2 separate regions of the Homo sapiens genome follow, and region 1 is linked to region 2. The links are contacts of gene promoters, found by promoter capture Hi-C in blood cells and fetal thymus (Javierre and others, 2016). All regions are on one chromosome and are shown on one strand. The core of a region is centred on a gene start or on the middle of the fragment in contact, and the rest is flanking DNA. Distances in the headings are between cores, read along the strand shown.

The links. Contacts are between HindIII fragments. The CHiCAGO score rates a contact against its expected background, and 5 or more counts as called.
Region 1: a fragment that was not itself captured here is called in contact with the fragment with the promoter of HOXB13 in region 2 in 2 of 17 cell types (megakaryocytes and endothelial precursors); the score reaches 6.2 in megakaryocytes.

Annotation. Positions count from the first base shown.
Region 1 is chr17:48,811,536-48,815,602 of GRCh38, forward strand. All of the region lies in intron 1 of TTLL6 (tubulin tyrosine ligase like 6), which reads right to left. It overlaps LOC105371813 (a long non-coding RNA gene), which reads left to right and starts at 705. Exons shown (of 4, transcript XR_001752926.1): 1 at 705-824; 2 at 1,525-1,552. The HindIII fragment of the contact is 1,004 bases long and covers 1,260-2,263 here.
Region 2 is chr17:48,726,741-48,730,902 of GRCh38, forward strand. It overlaps HOXB13 (homeobox B13), which reads right to left and starts at 2,010. Exons shown (of 2, transcript NM_006361.6): 1 at 1,253-2,010; 2 at 1-303. The coding sequence starts at 1,853. The coding sequence ends at 50. The HindIII fragment of the contact is 3,706 bases long and covers 1-3,345 here.

The DNA.
Region 1 (4,067 bases), core at 512-3,011, 85 kb after region 2:
GAGGTGACATTTTCTTAAACGCAGCCCACTTCTTTCATTTAAACTATATGCCTGACCCTATAGACATCTGAATTTATACCAGTTCTGCTCTAGTATCTCTGGCCTCCAAGCAGTTTCAAGTGAAAACAAAAGCTACTTCCACCAGGGCTGAGCAGAAAGCTTTTTTTTTTTTTTTTTTTTGAGACAGAGTCTTGCTCTGTCACCCAGGCTGGAGTGCAATGGCACGATCCCAGCTCACTGCAACCTCCACCTCCCAGGTTCCAGCTATTCTTCTGCCTCAGCCTCCCAAATAGCTGGGATTACAGGCACCTGTCACCATGCCGGCCTAATTATTTTTGCATTTTTAGTAGAGACGGGGTTTTGCCATGTTGGCCAGGCTGGTTTCAAATTCCTGAACTCAGGTGATCCGCCCACCTCGGCCTCCCAAAGTGTTGGGATTACAGGCGTGAGCCACCACGCCCAGCCAGAAAGCATTTTAATTCCCTGGTTTTCAGAATAAGAATTAAATCTGACCCAGGTGATGCTGGGACCCCCCCCCCCACCCCCCGCTCAGACTTTTCAGATGTGGACTTTATTTGGTTCTACAAGACTTCTCTTAACAGTCTTAGCAACCACTCCCTGCTCACCTGGTAGTTCCCACCTATTGTCTTGCGTAACAATTTTGTTGGTGCCAACACCAAAAGCAGTCTTGTAGCCTTGAGGAATAAAAGGAGGAAAGGCAAAAGACATGGCCTAAGGAGAATACAAAGGAGTGAGGGGAGCTGCTGGTGGCATCCTGAAATATACATACATCATGGTGTAAGGGCCTCTGCCGTCAGCTACAGGTGACTAAGCCACTTATTAAGAGGCAGCTGCAGTGTAGTAGCTAAGAACTCAGATTTCGAAGTCTCTGTCTGGATTTAAATCCCAGCTCTGCCACTTCCTAGTTGTCTGAACTCAGGCAGTTTATTTAACCTCCTGCCTTAGTTTCCTCATCTGTAAAGTGGCTTCTCCCAGTTATGGAGATTAAATGAGTTTACTCATTTGACTTAATGCAACACAAAGTTCTTAGAACAGTGCCTGGCACATAGAAGGTACCCACAAAGTGCTCTCTACCATTACCAGCTGTGTAACCCTGGACTGTGAACTTCCTGATGGAAGAGGCTGTGTCTCTGCATTCTCAGCTCCTAGCAGTGTCTAGAAAAGATACTAAAAATGAGATGTTCATATGCTCCTTGAATTAATGGGCTGGAAGAATGAATAAATGCATGAACTAATTAAGCTTCTCCAAGGTTCATTTTCCTTAGCTATATAACAGAAGTGTTGTTGTGAGCATTAGGTAAGTAACATTTGTTATTTACATTGTTAAAACATCAACCTTGGGTCCTTCTCATATAGCTGGCACTTAAAATGCTTGTTTCATTCACTTACAATAGACTATTGAAAACCCACTTACCAAGTAGCAGACATTACACTAAAGCATTTATAAACATAATGTCTCATCCTCATAATAACCTATCATGGATACTCTTTCCTCTATTACAGATGAGAAGACTGAGACAGAGAGACTAAGGTAAGAGGCACAGCTGGGGTTGGAAGACATGTCCATCTGACCCCACAGCCTGTCTCTCCATGCTCCCCTCACTGCCTTTTCCTCTCGGCAGGCCATCCATAAATAGTGTGACCATAAACTAAAGTAACTGATCTCCTAACTCCCAAAAGCAATCTTAGTGACTTTAGTCTCTTAAGAGTCAGTTGGGGACAGGCACGATGGCTCATGCCTGTAATCTCAGCACTTTCGGAGGCCAAGGTGGGCAGAGCACTTGAGCCAGGGGTTTGACACCAGCCTGGACAACATGGTGAAACCCCACTCTACCAATAAATAAATAAATAAATAAGCCAGGTGTGGTGGCGTGTGCCTGTAGTCCCAGCTACTCAGGAGGCTGAGGTGGGAGGATCACTTTAGCCCGGGAGGCTGAGGTTGCAGCGAGTAGAGATCACACAACTGCACTCCAGCCTGGGAGACAGAACTAGACCTTGCCTCAAAAACAAAAAGAAAAAGAAAAAGAGAAAAATAATCAGTTGGTCCCACATCATTTTCCTTAAAGTCAACTGCTTTAAATTCCCATCTCCAACAAGGGCTTGGATCTCTCCAGATTTGCCATAACCTGGTAACAGCTGTATTGTTTCTACTTGTATTTATTTTCACTCTCTTTCCCTTCTTTTCTCCAATGTCCACATTGTACCAGGGCTCCTATTAAGGGTGTAATTAGAATATTTTCTAAGCTTCTATGGAATTCCTGAATGTTAGAGCTGGGAGGAATCTTTTTAGAGGAGGTTTTGAACTCTCTGCCCTCTGCCAGTCTGTGCTAGGGGAGGGGACTTGTACCCAGCCAGAGAGCAAGAAATCAGAAGCACCATCAAAACCCCAGCTTCCTGGTCCCCAAGTTATCTTCCCATTATGCTGGGTTAGTGGACAGACAAAGTGGACTAAGTGCTTTAGAGAGTTTTTAAAAGACTAAGGCTGGGTGCGGTGGCTCACGCCTGTAATTCCAGCACTTTGGGAGGCCAAGGCAGGTGGGTTACTTGAGGTCAGGAGTTGGAGACCAAGTTGGCAAACATGGTGAAACCCCGTCTCTACTAAAAATACAAAAATTAGCTGGGCATGGTGGCAGGCGCCTGTAATCCCAGCTACTCGGTAGGCTGGGGCAGGAGAATCGCTTGAACCTGGGAGGCGGACGTTGCAGTGAGCCCAGATCGCACCACTGCCCTCCAGTCTGGGTGACAGAGGGAGACAGTGTCTCAAAAAAAAAAAAAAAAAAAAAAAGACTAAGAGCTGTACTACCAATGTAACAAACACAGTAAATAGCAAAATAGCATCTTCAGTTTTTCTTAATGACACAAGAAAGAGCATTGTGTCATTAAGGAAGGGTATTAGTCCACCTTTCCAAGTAGGATATAGTTAAGACACTGAAAAAATTCTCATGTTTCCTTCCATTTTAGTATAGGGTTTGATCTTGAGATCTTCCAAGCCAGAGGCTGTCAACAAGATCCTGGTTAGACAGCACGAAAATGTCCTACATTGGCCACCAGGGGGAGGGAATGAGCACTGGGACGGGTCCACTGGGACGGGTCCATTGCGGGTTATTTGGAAAAAACTCAGAGGAGGGTCCCTGTCTTATTTCCACTTCTGAAGGACTATACCTGTTGACTACTCTCCTCTTCCCTGGAGGTGTTGCAGAGGGTGGAAAATGTTTAGTGCTTTCTTTTATCTTTCTTTCTTTCTTTCAAACTCCAGCCTGTTGCCCAGGCTGGAGTGCAATGGCACGATCTCAGCTCACCGCAACCTCTGCCTCCTGGATTCAAGTGATTCTCCCGCCTTAGCTTCCCGGGAGCTGGGACTACAGGCATGCACCACCACGCCTGGCTAATTTTGTATTTTTAGTAGAGATGGGGTTTCTCCATGTTGGTCAGGCTGGTCTCAAACTCCCAACCTCAGGTTATCAGCCCACCTCAGCCTCCCAAAGTGCTGGGATTACAAGCATGAGCCACCGCGCCCAGCAGTTTAGTGATTTCTTTTGCAAAACTGAATGAACACGGGCATCCTATAAATGATAGAAAACAATAATTTGGTGGTTGACTAAGAGAACCCTGGGAGAACATATTTCAAGTTGTAGCCAAGTTTTTTCATCTCTGACCTTCATCACCTGGACTTTTTTTCTAGTCTATAGGAATATATAGAGCACTGAAAGTTTCGCCTATTGTGTCTGTCTGTGAAGTCCCTCTCTTTCACCAGATAATAGGTTTTCCTTCACGTACCTCCTTTTCATCTTTTGGTCCTCATTTCCCTACTGGAAGCATCCCTCTGAAGGCCTCCAGTGGTTCTTGGAAAATGTCAAATTGGATGGGGGAAGAAAAGATGTGGAGGTAAGACCTCTGGATCTTGCTTTCAGCTTTGCCCCTCCAACTCAGTATGTCATAAAAATCCAAGCAATTATTTCCTCTCCCACTCCCTATCTTCTCTATAATTACAGGACCACTAGGAGGATAAAAGCTTCACATCTAGAAAAGTGCTTTGAGCTTTGATT
Region 2 (4,162 bases), core at 760-3,259:
CCCCAGGACACCCCCACTTTCGCTCCTCCCACCCAGGCAAGGAGATCTCTTAAGGGGTAGCGCTGTTCTTCACCTTGGCGAGAACCTTCTTCTCTTTGACCCGGCGGTTCTGAAACCAGATGGTAATCTGGCGCTCCGAGAGGCTGGTGGCTGCCGAGATCTTGCGCCTCTTGTCCTTGGTGATGAACTTGTTAGCCGCATACTCCCGCTCCAGCTCCCGCAACTGCCCCTTGCTGTACGGAATGCGTTTCTTGCGGCCGCGACGAAAGGCGCAGGCGTCAGGAGGGTGCTGCCCGCTGGAGTCTGCGCGGCGTGAAAGGGAGGGAGGAAAAGGCATGGTCAGATACCCACCCATGCAGACCCAGGCCTTGCAAGCCCCAAGCTAAGTCATCTCACAGGTGCACACAGGTCACCCTACAGGCGCACGTGCAATCCTGTTCCTCCAAAGCATACCAGGACAGCACCCTGGCTTCCGGCTTGTTCTCTCACCACCGCTCAGCCTTGGCTCCTGAAGGCCACCCTCACCCATCACTGCTCTCACACCCGCGAATCTGCAAACATACCCACACACCACACACAGTCAGGCCTTTGCCCACCATCACATACGTCCAGTCTTCATGCATTTCCAGACTCTTGGCCACTCTTTTAGATTCTACAGGCAAATTCTGGAAACACGTTTCTGCCCCCACTCCCAATACATGCGCATACACACACACACACACACATTAACCCATCCCAGTGCACACACATATGTCACGGCTGCAGGAAACCTAAATTTTTCTTTGGAAATTGGAAAACTCATCTAATAGAAAGTGAGAGGTTGTATTCTCTACAGTACATCCAATACCTTTTTACCCATCTCCCACACCCACTCCCCACGCACCGAATTGAGAGTTATTTAGCTTTTGTGTAGAATTAGTTTGGAATTGTGCTGGGTAGGGACACCCTGATCCCCACTCAACAGCAAAGAGATCTAAACCTCTCAGACATGTTGAAAGGCTGGTCCCAGGGCCTCCTGGAGAAGTGAGGTGGCCTTCAGGCTTCAGATAGCACCCAGCTCAGGCCCCTCACACTGACCTCCATCCAGGCCCTCCAGCTACTCAGACCTCCTTCAGAGTCCTAATAACCAAGGGAGGAGCACCAAGCTCATCCTCACCAGCTCCAAGTCTCCCTCCTCCTCCTCCCAGGGAAATGCCATTGGGACCCACAACCCCAGGCTCAGAGACAAGGGGACCCAGGGTAATAGAGGTACCTGCAAATGCTGCCTTCCAAAAGGGACCTGGTGGGTTCTGTTCTCCCTGGCAACACATCTGGCTGTTCCAGCCACCAGCGAGAGCCCAAGACTGGTAACTGTCCACAGGCAACAGGGAGTCATGTCGCGGTTCTCCAGGAGCACCCAGAGTCTGCACCACAGACACGTCCAGGTAACTGGCCATAGGCTGGTAGGTTCCCGGATATCCCGGATAGAAGGCAAACTCAGTGGGGCGGCTGGGGTACTCTTCCCCGGCCGTGGGAGTCTCCGCGGGGTACGCGGCCAGGGTGGCTGCCTGGGCACAGGGTTTCAGCGAGCTCCGGGACACTCGGCAGGAGTAGTACCCGCCTCCAAAGTAACCATAAGGCACGGGAGCTGGGGACGTCCCCTGGGGCACCCCAGGGCATGGGTGGCATTGCTTTGGCGGCTCCGCCGAGCCTGGCAGATCCAAGGGGGCATAGTTGACAGCAGGCATCAGCGTAGGCGCCGCTGGGTGGCTGGTCAGAGGGGAGTGGGCGACCAGATTCCGCCCCCCTCCCGCTCCCAGCAAGCCTTCGATATCCTTGGCTCCATCCAAGGTGGCATAATTGCCGGGCTCCATGGAGCCGAGGGTCGGCTCATGAGGTGCGGGGGCGGGGAATCTAGGGGGCACCCAGCTCGCTCTCCCCACCCAGGCCGGGGGAATCCAAAGCGTTTTAAATCGCTCCCAGCTCGCAAGTCGCCTGCATTCGCTCAGCACGGCCGTCTTGACGCAAGAGACGCAGGGGCCCGGGCACGCGCGCTGATTGGCTGCGGCCTGGGGGAGAGAAGCTAATAAAATCCTAAAGGCAGAAACTGCGAAAATACTTTACCCCAGCTTATTCTCTCTCTCTCTCTCTCTCTTTCTCTCTCTCTCTCTCTCTCTCTCTCTCTCTGTCTCTGTCTCTCTCTCTCGCTCTCTCGCTCTTTCTCTCCTCTCTCTCTTCTCCCTCTCTCTCTTCTTTTCCCTCTCCACTCCTCTCTCTCTCATTCCACTTAAAAACAACAAGAGAGAAAAGGAAGGAGGTGTCCTTTCGCTGCTTTCCAGTTTGCAGAGTCTCATTTACACGTCCGGGGGGAGGGGAGGCGTGGTGGGCGGAGGAAGAGGGGACGAGGAGCCGGGCCCCACCTCCTTCTCCTCCTCTCCCTCCCTAGCTTTCTGTCTCCTGCGCTTTGACAGGTTTAACGAGAGAATAAAAAGCTCTCTCTATAAAGTGTCCATCTCCTGGGGGGGAAGGGGAGTCGGGGGTGGGGCTGGGAGGCCGCTCCCGGCCTCAGAGGAGAACCCGGGAATGCGCCTGTGTAAGAGGAGGCTGGGAAATGGGGGTTAATAGGTATTTCTGGCAGCCCCTGGCTTTGGGTCCTGGGTACTAGCACCCCAGTTCATTCCCGGTACCCTTCCTGTCCCAGATGTCCTGGAATGAGCTGCTCCGGGCCCCAGGGAGGTGCCCTGGACGCCCCTTACCCAGGGACTCGCTACTGCCCAGAATGCTCTGGAGGCCCTGATTCGGGTGAGGCTGAGGGAAGAGGCGGGAGACACGAACGTAGACGTAGAAGACATGCGATCTGGATGGAACCCAGGACACTCCACTTCCGGACCTGAAGGGGAAATGGAGCCTCTAGAGTGGCCTGTGGAAGGGTCTGGATTTCCCTTTAAGTAAAGACATACGGAGGGACGGAGACCCACAGGACTTGAGGGAGGGACGGGGAGAGGGAGAGATGAGACTCAGGGACAGCAACACAAAGAGGGAAAGAGAGAAGCTGACAGAGCGGATGGGACAAAATCTTGTAAAATCCTGAAGTGTCAGTCAGAAAAGAGAAAGAAGAGAGGCACTTTCCCCCTTTTTTGGGATCTAAAGAAGTCTGAGGAAGCCAAGCCTGGCTGACTGCCAGAAACCAGCTGCGGGAGTTCTGGACCCCAAGAATACAGACGCCTGTGTGGAGATGCCAGTCTCCCTGCCCTGCAGTCCTCTCCCTATGGTCTGCAAGGGGCCCAGGAAACTGTCCCTGATACTGGCATACTCCCACACAAGCTGAGTACCCAGAAAGCCCAAGACCCCTATCTGCCTCCTGCAAGCTTTAAACTTCCTTACAAGGAAAAGGGAATGGAAGGGGAAACCCCAGCCACTGGCAGAATTGCTTGAGGCCCCTCTGTTGGGGCCTAATGTGCAGTGCAATTCAGAAGAATCAAACGGTTTGTTTCACAAATCTGTCTTTAGAGGTTTTCCGCTTCCTTTACTACCCCTCCCAAATCAAATCCTTCTGTCTGCTTTTTCTAGAACTCCCAGTTTTTCTGGAGAAGACAGGAATGTTTCCATTCTACACGAGGGTCTTGACAATTATATGGAATGGCTTACCCTAAACTCTGGGCAGACTCAATCATAGCCTCTCACCAACCTGACCTTGAACTTGAGCCACTTTGTGGGAAAGGGCCCACAGGCAGTAGTGTACATCACTCCTAATGAGCATTGCTATAATTGAAGACACCAAGCACGAAATCTTCACTAGATCGCATTTGAAAACAATATGGAAGAAAAGGGAGGAGATGTCTCTTCAGTGCTTTCCAGTTTCTCACCAGAGTTTCTTGCTTGTCTAATTATGAACTGCAGAAATATCCAGACTTTTACCTAAAGACTAAGAATTTTTCACCAATTTTTACTTGGTAGATGATAGATATGTAGGGCATGTCCACAGTTTTAGTTTCCACTAGGCAAACACCCACACATGCACATTTATTCATCCTTGTACAGTAGAGGCATTAATAGATCCCTAAATTTAAAAAATAATAATAGTCATAGTCATGCCCTATGACCCAGCAATTCCATTCCTGGGCATAAACCCAACAGAAATGAACCTTTATATCCATCAAAAGTCATGTACTAGTAGGTCCAC